Linked DNA regions of Homo sapiens: region 1 is linked to region 2. Evidence: promoter capture Hi-C in human tissues and cell types (Jung and others, 2019). All regions are on one chromosome and are shown on one strand. The core of a region is centred on a gene start or on the middle of the fragment in contact, and the rest is flanking DNA. Distances in the headings are between cores, read along the strand shown.

Region 1 (4,350 bases), core at 1,425-3,924, 1.4 Mb after region 2:
AGGTCAGGAGTTCAAGACCAACCTGGCCAATATGGTGAAACCCCATTTCTACTAAAAATACAAAAATTAGCCGGGCGTGGTGGTGCGTGCCTGTGGTCTCAGCTGCTCGGGAGGCTGAGGCAGAGGAGTCGCTTGAACCTGGGAGGCGGAGGTTGCAGTGAGCCAAGATTGAGCCATTGCACTCCAGCCTGCGCAACAGAGCGAGACTCCGTCTCAAAAAAAAAAAAATTATTTTTCCCAAAGTAGAGGCAGGGTCACACACTCGGGTATTTAAATTCTCTGGGAAAACCAGTGGGGTCCTGGTGAGCATCAGGAAATTCCTTGATTATACTTTTAAGTTCTACCTTTGACCATAACTCATGAACTAGGGCACATAGTTGTCCCCTATGAGAGACACTGGCTGTTTGAGCAATGGCCCCAAAACAGGAGGAGGAGGAGGAAGAAAGGTGGGTCTGGGCGAGGTAATTCAGACAACAAAGGATAAAGAGAAGGAGCTGAGGGAGGAGGGGGAGAAATTTCAGTAGTCTTTTTTAAATTCAGAAATTATTTTAGATAATTTTTGTTTTTCTCTCATAAATACCTTTATTAGAACTTCTTTTGGATGCTTCCAACTACCATAAAAAATAACTCTCCCAAAGATTCCGTTTTATCCTAGAGCCAGCGTTTTCCAATTGAGCAAACAAGTAAATTACCTTGGTGTTCCAATGGTACCCGGCTTTGGTCACTGAAATGTTTTTTCTCAAGTTACGTGAGACCATTTTTCTAAATATAACGAGAGGTGGCACCATAAGCACTGCACAGGAAACCAGCTGGAGTTTCCAAAGATGGGTCCTCCCTGAAGGAGAAAGACTTGTTTTGGATGGACGATTGCCTATGAGTTCTCTTAAGTGACAAAAGACTGTAAGGGAAAATCTGGTTACTCAAGAAGAAAGTTTAGACATGTCAAATTGAACTCAGCTCCAGAGCCTGGCCAGTTTTAAGGATTACAAATTTTGCTTAAGCCACGATTCGCTGCTTCTTTTCAAAGAGAAACTGCTTTCCCCTTCTCCAAATCTGAAGGACAAAAAAGGTTGCAAACTTTAGCAAGACGAACAAAACCTTAACCTCGAAGGATAGTGTTAACCACACACCTGCAAACAGCTGACTCTTTGGAGAAATAACAAACGAAACTCTTGCCTTAAAACCAAGCCTCAACTCCAGCCCTATCAGGTGTGGACCTGGGTAGGCGGAACAGAGTCTGAACCTCAGCCCTGGGAGGCTGCCAGAGACCCCGGCCAGGTTCCCAGGCGGTCCGGTGAACCAAGGCCGCTCCGCGGGTGCCAGCGCTCCGAGTGCCAGAGAAGTGGCTCGGATCACAAGAGGCTGGCTTCGGAGCCATCTGCAGGCGCCCAAATCCCAACCTAAAATCACCACAGGGTCAGAATCTAATGTAAGGGGGGGTTATTCAAAGGCAGTTGGAGGCTGGCCCACCCGGAAACACCGGCTCCAGAGGAATGGAGTCCGCCCTCGGAAGCGGGGAGGGGAAGGGTGCCCTCGGGCAGGCAGAGGCGGAGGCTTTTAGCAGGACCGCGGCGTCCTTCCTACGAGGTGGGCGCAGTCCTCGCGTTTGATGGACGACGGGCAGTGCCTGCTTCAGGGAAGGGTGCGGCAGTCACGGTTTCCCGTCTTCTGGTCTAAGCAGTGCAGAAAACAGGGAAGTTCATCTACAAGGGTCATGAACTAAGAAGGCAGGAGGTTTCTGTCCCCGGCACCGGCGAATCCCGGACCCGAGAAAGGAGCTACGGGCGCACAGAAGCGGGCGGCCCCGGCTCTCGCGGGGCTTAAAGCGCGCAGTGTGTTCGGGTTCACACCTCTAAATGTATTTTTGCCATTTCTTAAGTAGCCTTAAAAATGTCCGTCACTATTTAGTCCTTTTATCAACCGAGGGGCCCGGAAGGCCGCAGCGAGGGCGTCGGCGAGAAGCCATGGAGGAGAAACGGCGCTTCTCTCGGGAGTTTAGGTGGCAGCTTCAGCAGCACACGTTTCAGCCCATTCTGGGGCCGTTTCTAGTGTGGTTAACGTACAAAAATAAACAAATCCCCTAAAAGTCCCACGCGGACATCGGCGGGAGCCCAGGGCCGGACGCCGCGGTGTGGAGCGAGGGCGCCGGCGCGGACTATGAGGGCCCACCGCGCCTCGTCCAGGGCTCACTTAAGAGCAGCGTGAGCAGCGCTTGGGACCGCCGTCCGGGACGCCCGCAGCCCTTTAGGATGGAGGCCACCGTGACCTCCGCCACCGAAGCACCGCGCTCCCCTAGTCCCCTCAGCCGGTCGCCGTTCCCCGCCGCGCAGGCGCAGGAGCCGCGGCGAGCCCCTCGGTCACGCCTCGCCCCTCGGTCACGCCTCGCCCCTCGGTCACGCCTCGCCCCTCGGTCACGCCTCGCCCCTCGGTCACGCCTCGCCCCTCGGTCACGCCTCGCCCATCCGCGCCGCGCAGGCGCACTGAGCCTCAGCCGCTCTCCTCGCTACCAGGCTCCTTTCCTCTATCGCGCAGGCGCACTGAACCTCAGCCGCGCCGGGAGGCGAGCCCGTTGGCGAGGGGCGGGGCAGATGGCGAGGGAGCGGGGCGAGCTGCTTTTTGAGGCTGCGCACTCGCATGGCCCCACCTCGCAGGTCCACTTCCGGCGCCGCGGCTGTTCCGGGCGGAGACCGCTTGTGCTGGAGTCGGAGTTGTAACGCTCCACTGACTGATAGAGCGACCGGCCGACCATGGCGCCCGGAGTGGCCCGCGGGCCGACGCCGTACTGGAGGTTGCGCCTCGGTGGCGCCGCGCTGCTCCTGCTGCTCATCCCGGTGGCCGCCGCGCAGGAGCCTCCCGGAGCTGGTGAGGGCGCCGGGGCGGGCGGGGCCGCGAAGGGGGCGGGGCGGCTGGTGGGTCCAGGTCGGGGTCGGGGTCGGGGTTTCGGCCAGGGCGCTGGGCTCGGCGGGCGGCCTGGGCCCACGGTCGCAGGCAGCGCCCCGACGGAGGCTCCTCGAGGGTCACGCCCGTTTGGCGGCCGCGGGAGCTGCCGTCGCGGCTGGGGCGCGGGCAGGGGAAGAGCCGTCTTTGTCTTTGTCTTTGTTTTGTCCAGTCGCTGCGGCCGCTCCTCGCGCGTGGCCTCGGGTTGGCCCTCGCCCGGCAGGCGGGACGCTTGGCACCTGCGGCCTCCCTTAGCCTCACTGCGACCCCAAACAGCACTCCTCGGGTTCGATCCCGAGCCGGGAAGCCGGCTCACGACGTGTTCGAGGTCGCACAGCTGGTCGGGGGCAGGCCGGGATGGCGGCCGCAGGCCCCTGCAGGGTGATGGGGCCGCGGCCGGTGTGTCTCTACAGCCGCCGGCGTTCACGCCGCCACTCCCTCCCGGCCGCAGTTCCACGCACAGCAGCGAACGCTCGCACTTATGCCTTAGAAAGGAAGGCGTCCCCAAAGCCAGGCTGTAGCATCTGATTTTGAAGCAAGCTGATTGCGGTTCTACGCTGTCCAGACGCGCAGGTGGCATTCTTCATCGTTTATCCCGTCTGCACCAGGCCCTGCGGCCACAGTGGTGACCGACAGCCAGAGCTCCTATCCAAGAGGAGCTGAGTCCCCGGGAGGCTGACCAAGAAAGAAGCAGTGAGGGCGCGGGGGCTGGGGGAGGAAAGTGCATGACAGGAGACTCAGAGTTCCAGAAACCGGCAGTGTTTATAGAGGGTGGCTTCCTGTGGGGCTGGGCCTCCAGGGCCTGGTGGGCTGCGGGAAAATCCAGCAGGTTCTAAGCTGGAGAGTGTCATGGTTGGACCTGTTTCACAATGTCATGCTGGCTTCCGTGTGTGGAGTTTCCAGGTGACCACTAGTGGTGGGGAATAGTGCCACCTTAACTTCAGTTTCCTGACCCTTACAATTAGGGTTGACCTGGGCCCAGCTTGAGGGGCTAATACTTTTCTCAGCTCTTGTTAGCCCAGGCTCTGTCAGTGTCTGTTTAGCATAGTAGAGCACCTTTTCTTTTTGTGACCTTATGGAATGTTTATTCCGATGCAGGATTATTTGTGTTTCTTCTTACCTGCCTCCAAGTGTGCTTAGGGTTTGTGACGTTAGCAATGCAGCTGCCTTGAAGTTTGTTAGTCAAGGAGGCCAGTGGGACTGTACTGGGAACTTTTGGCCCAGATTGAGTTCTAAGCGCAAATGTGCAGTGAATACGTTTCCACAAACAGAATGGGCGTCTGCAGGCAGAGTGTGTGATTCACTGGCAACTGTATCAGTGGCTCGGGGGTGTGTTTGCTTGCATTGTGAAAGCGGGAGTGTCAGGAAAACAACCATGAGGTTTTGTTTGACTGTGATTCCTCCTGCTCTGCA
Region 2 (4,239 bases), core at 91-2,590:
CTGTGGGGAAGGTGCCTGTGGGTATTCTTTTGTCCACTCTCTCTTCCAACTTTCTCCTCCGGCTTGCTGTGGCTCACCGCCCCTTCGAAGTTAGGCTGGGGGTAGGAATTGAGGAGTGGGTGCCGAAATGCTCACTAGGCTGGGGCAGTTGTAACTGGATGTCAGGGCTTCTGTGGGCCAGGTGAAGACATGCTGGGGTCTTCTGTGGGTCCTTGACCTGACTTACGGACCACTGGCTGCAGCCTCCAGACGTCAGCCATGTTTCCAACAGTCAGACGCCCCCTGCCCTGTTGCGCCCGGCTGTCCCTTCCAAGTTCGGTCACTCGCTCTGCCTCCATCTTCCTCTTCCCTCTGCTGCTAAGGCTTTTCACCTTTAATTTCTCCTGGGGCCACCCCCAACTCCAGCGACCCCGTGAGCAGCTGAGGCTCTACCGCGCTCGGTCCTGGCCAGCGACGCAGCCCTTCCCTGGCGGGGCTCCAGGGCTTCTGGCCCCTGTGGTCCGCCAGGTGTGGGGGCCCACGGCCTCACCGCGCCTACCCCACTCCCCCCGGCGAAGCTACGCGGCGCTCAGCTTCCCAGGGACGCCGGCGGCGCCCTCGGCTCCTCCGCTCCGCCCCGCCCTCCCCCTGGTCTCGCACTGGAGCCGACGGCCCGCGCCCACCTCACCTCAGGGCGGCCTCCCGCCCCCACCCCCGGCCCCGGCGTCCGGGCAAATCCTGCAGCGCGAGAGCAATTCCCTGCCACCCGACCTTCGCACTCGCTGTCGCTCGCTCGAGCCTCGCTCCCCACGTCCTTCCTTCCGACCCGCGGCTGGACCCTCCTCACAAATTTCTCAGAGAGGCTCACCTCAAAGCGCGGCGCACGAGGCCGGGCTCCCGGGACGCAAGCCTCTAGAGGGCGCGCGAGAGGCCCCGCCCCCGCCCTTCGGCCCCACCCACCAGCCCCGCCCCCACCCGCACCCACCAGGCCCCGCCCCCACCTCCCCACCCACCAGCCCCGCCCCCACCTCCCCACCCACCAGCCCCGCCCCTCATGCCCCGCCAATAAGGCCCCACCCGCCTCCCCCGTCCCGTCGCCTTCACCCACCATCCCCGCTCCCTCAGGCCCCGCCCCACGCCGCATGGGGCACCAAGCGCTCCACCACTGTGGTCGCCTGGCACACCCCGGGGTCACGCTCGCGGCGCTCTGATTGGTTGCGTGGGCGTCGGCCCACCTAAGCCTGAGCGCCTGCCGAGGCCTGCGCCTGCGTAGTGCGCGCGGGAGGGGCGGGAGGGGCGGGAGGGGCGGGAGGGGCGGGGCTGGGCGGCAGGTCCCGGGTGCGGACATCTGGCAGCTGGCAGTGGGCGGCGTAGAGCACTGCAGCAGCAATGACGGAGGGCACGTGAGTCCCCTCGCCCCGGGCTCCTGACGAATGCGGGGTGGTCCTAGGTGCTGAGGAGAGCGCGACTGGGGCAGTGGGCCGGCGGCCGGCGTTGGGGCGGGGCCTGGGTCGCTGATGGCCGGTGGTCCTCAGGTGTCTGCGGCGCCGAGGGGGCCCCTACAAGACCGAGCCCGCCACCGACCTCGGCCGCTGGCGACTCAACTGCGAGAGGGGCCGGCAGACGTGGACCTACCTGCAGGACGAGCGCGCCGGCCGCGAGCAGACCGGCCTGGAAGCCTACGCCCTGGGGCTGGACACCGTAAGTTGCTTCCGCGGAGCGTCAGCGAGCTCGGGACCCTGAGGGGTGAGCCGTGAGGAGCACGTTTTCTCTCAGAAAGGCGGGTGGGAGGACCCGGCCAGCGACGCCCATCCCCAAGGCGAGCGCCCACGGGAACTGCGTTCGCGGGCCCCTCCGCTTCAGCCCCTTCATCTCTAAACCACGCATAGGAGACTCCTAATGTTTTATTTTTTAGCACCTTATTTTGAGATAATTTTTGACTTATAGGAGAGTTGCAAAGATAGTTGTAACTTTGTTTTTATTCACAAAAAGTGTTTGGATCCACTGTCTTAGTTGTGTGCATTGTAAGAGATTTTGGTCGTCAGAGTCTGCAGTGTAAACAGGGTCTCCTGCCGAGCCCCGGCCACCGAGGGAAAGGCTGTGCCGCCCCTTGGGCCCTCTTTGAGAGGCCCGAGTCCCAGGCCCAGGTCGGCACCCGTGCCCCACCCTACAGTCTGGGTGCCTGGTTTATTCCAGACATCTTGGAGAAGTTGTGAAGAATACATGACTGGCAAATAAAGCAACGAAAATGTGCAGCTGTTCTTTTACTTTGCTGAGGTGTGATGCTCTCATCAAAGAGTTTCAGACTTTTGATGGAAACAGCTGAAACTTTTAAAGTAATTTACATTCACTGTTTTGACTTGGGCTGTATGTGAAGAGGGTTCCTCTGGCCGGGCAACAGTCCCGTCAGCTATCTCTTTTTTTTTTTTTCGATCTCTTTGCAGAAGAATTACTTTAAGGACTTGCCCAAAGCCCACACCGCCTTTGAGGGGGCTCTGAACGGGATGACATTTTACGTGGGGCTGCAGGCTGAGGATGGGCACTGGACGGGTGATTATGGTGGCCCACTTTTCCTCCTGCCAGGTAGGAGTATGCTGCCCCAGCCTGATGGTATGGCCACCCTGGATCACCCTTGGGATCCTGGCCCAGCCTGGTCTAGGGTTTTGATGAAGCAGGTGAAAATCCAGGGGCTCACAAGAAAAGGGCTGGCAAACTCTGCCCTATGTCAGAGTCGTCCTGCTATTGGTCTAGGGGATCAGCTAGCCTTGCCAGTGTAGGGTGACAGGCTCTCTGATAAGAGAAGCAAGTGGTTCTCTAGGGCTCTGTGTTGCCTTGAGGGAGGAGGAAGGTGGGCTTTGAAGTCTCAGTACAGGATGGGATGGACATTCCAGGTGGAAGGCCCAGCCTATGCCAAGGGGCTGTAGGTGGGCAGAGTGGTGGGTGGGGAGCTGATATCTGCTGTGAACTTCCTCGGGGCTATTGCAGGAGAGCTTCAGGTTCAGGCTGGTGAGTAGGAGGAGCATAGCAGTTGGACTGCCTGGGTATTGAACTGATTTGGCTACACAAGACTATTTTGCATCCTGGGAGTGTTTCTCTACAGAAATCCTCAGCCTTGTAAAATGGGAAATTCCCTCCTATGAATTTATGCAATAGGACTTTTTTCCCTAGTGACTTGTAATCACATTGTTTCAATGACGTGAATTCCTACATAAATAGGTTTTGTTTCTGTGATAACTCTTACTGATACATCATTTTCTTTTACTACGCTGACTTTGTAATAGATAGAAAGTCCTTATATACCTTTGTTGCCTTTCTTTTTAAAACATCTCTTACCTGTGTCTATTCATTTACTCATCCAAATTGCCTTTATCCTGATTTTGTCCCAGACTTGAAATGAAGTTGCAATAGGCTTATATGTTAGTTTGGGAAGAGTTGGCCTTTAACGTTAAAAACAGTTCCATGGTGTTTACTGTAGGCCAAGCCCTGCTCAAGGCCTGTTCTTCTTTTAGTCCTTAGAATAAGCCTAATGAGATACATTAGAAAGCTGAGGCACATTTATTCCAGGTAACCAGACTAGCAGGAGGAGCACTGGGATCCCCATCTCTGCTTTGACTTCTAGCCCTGCTGCCACCTGGACTGTACAGCATTGAGTTTTTCTGTCCTGGGATTTGAGGGCCTGTCCTTAGGGGAAGTCAAGGTGCTCTTCTTCCCTTGGCCCCATCAGGGCCTGTTTAGACTGTTCTCAGGGCTCGTGGTAAGGCAATGACATAGAGTTGGTCAGGAGATGGGTCAGCCCCACTTTGCCTCTGTAGCCTGACCTGTGACAGGATTGGAATCAGGTTTGGTCATGTGCACAGTGTCAGGCATGCAGTGGTGCTTGGTCAGTGGGGATTACTGTGTTGTTTGTTCTTGCTGCTTTGGCTCTGGGCTTAGCTGGCTGGGACCCTTCCTGTGGGCTGGCTGTGAGTTGGAGTTTTTTTGTATTTTTTTTTTTTTTTTGAGACAGCGTTCGCTCTTGTTCCCCAGGCTGGAGTGCAATGGCACAATTTTGGCTCGTTGCAGCCTCTGCCTCCTGGGTCCAAGTGATTCTCCTGCCTCAGCCTCCTGTAGGGTCCAGCCCCACAGGGTCGGTAGGTTTTTCTCCCTGTGTGCGGAGATGAGAGATTGTAGAAATAAAGACACAAGACAGAGAGATGAAAGAAAAGACAGCTGGGCCCGGGGGACCACTACCACCAAGACGTGGAAACCGGTAGTGGCCCT

The links. Contacts are between HindIII fragments. The study calls those that stand out against the background at their distance.
Region 1: a contact is called between the fragment with the promoter of PTTG1IP here and the fragment with the promoter of LSS in region 2, in 1 of the 25 tissues and cell types used here (mesenchymal stem cells).

What each region holds. Positions count from the first base shown.
Region 1 is chr21:44,872,014-44,876,363 of GRCh38, reverse strand. PTTG1IP (PTTG1 interacting protein) reads left to right here and starts at 2,674. Exons shown (of 6, transcript NM_004339.4): 1 at 2,674-2,862. The coding sequence starts at 2,748. RefSeq lists enhancers at 1,717-2,394, 2,552-3,052, 3,053-3,553 and a silencer at 2,311-2,960. The HindIII fragment of the contact is 14,261 bases long and covers 1-4,350 here.
Region 2 is chr21:46,225,875-46,230,113 of GRCh38, reverse strand. It overlaps LSS (lanosterol synthase), which reads left to right and starts at 1,340. Exons shown (of 22, transcript NM_002340.6): 1 at 1,340-1,382; 2 at 1,515-1,680; 3 at 2,424-2,562. The coding sequence starts at 1,369. It overlaps MCM3AP-AS1 (MCM3AP antisense RNA 1), which reads right to left and starts at 883. Exons shown (of 4, transcript NR_110565.1): 1 at 848-883. RefSeq lists silencers at 536-975, 1,036-1,295, 1,306-1,475, 1,536-1,585 and enhancers at 1,005-1,299, 2,016-2,085. The HindIII fragment of the contact is 14,795 bases long and covers 1-4,239 here.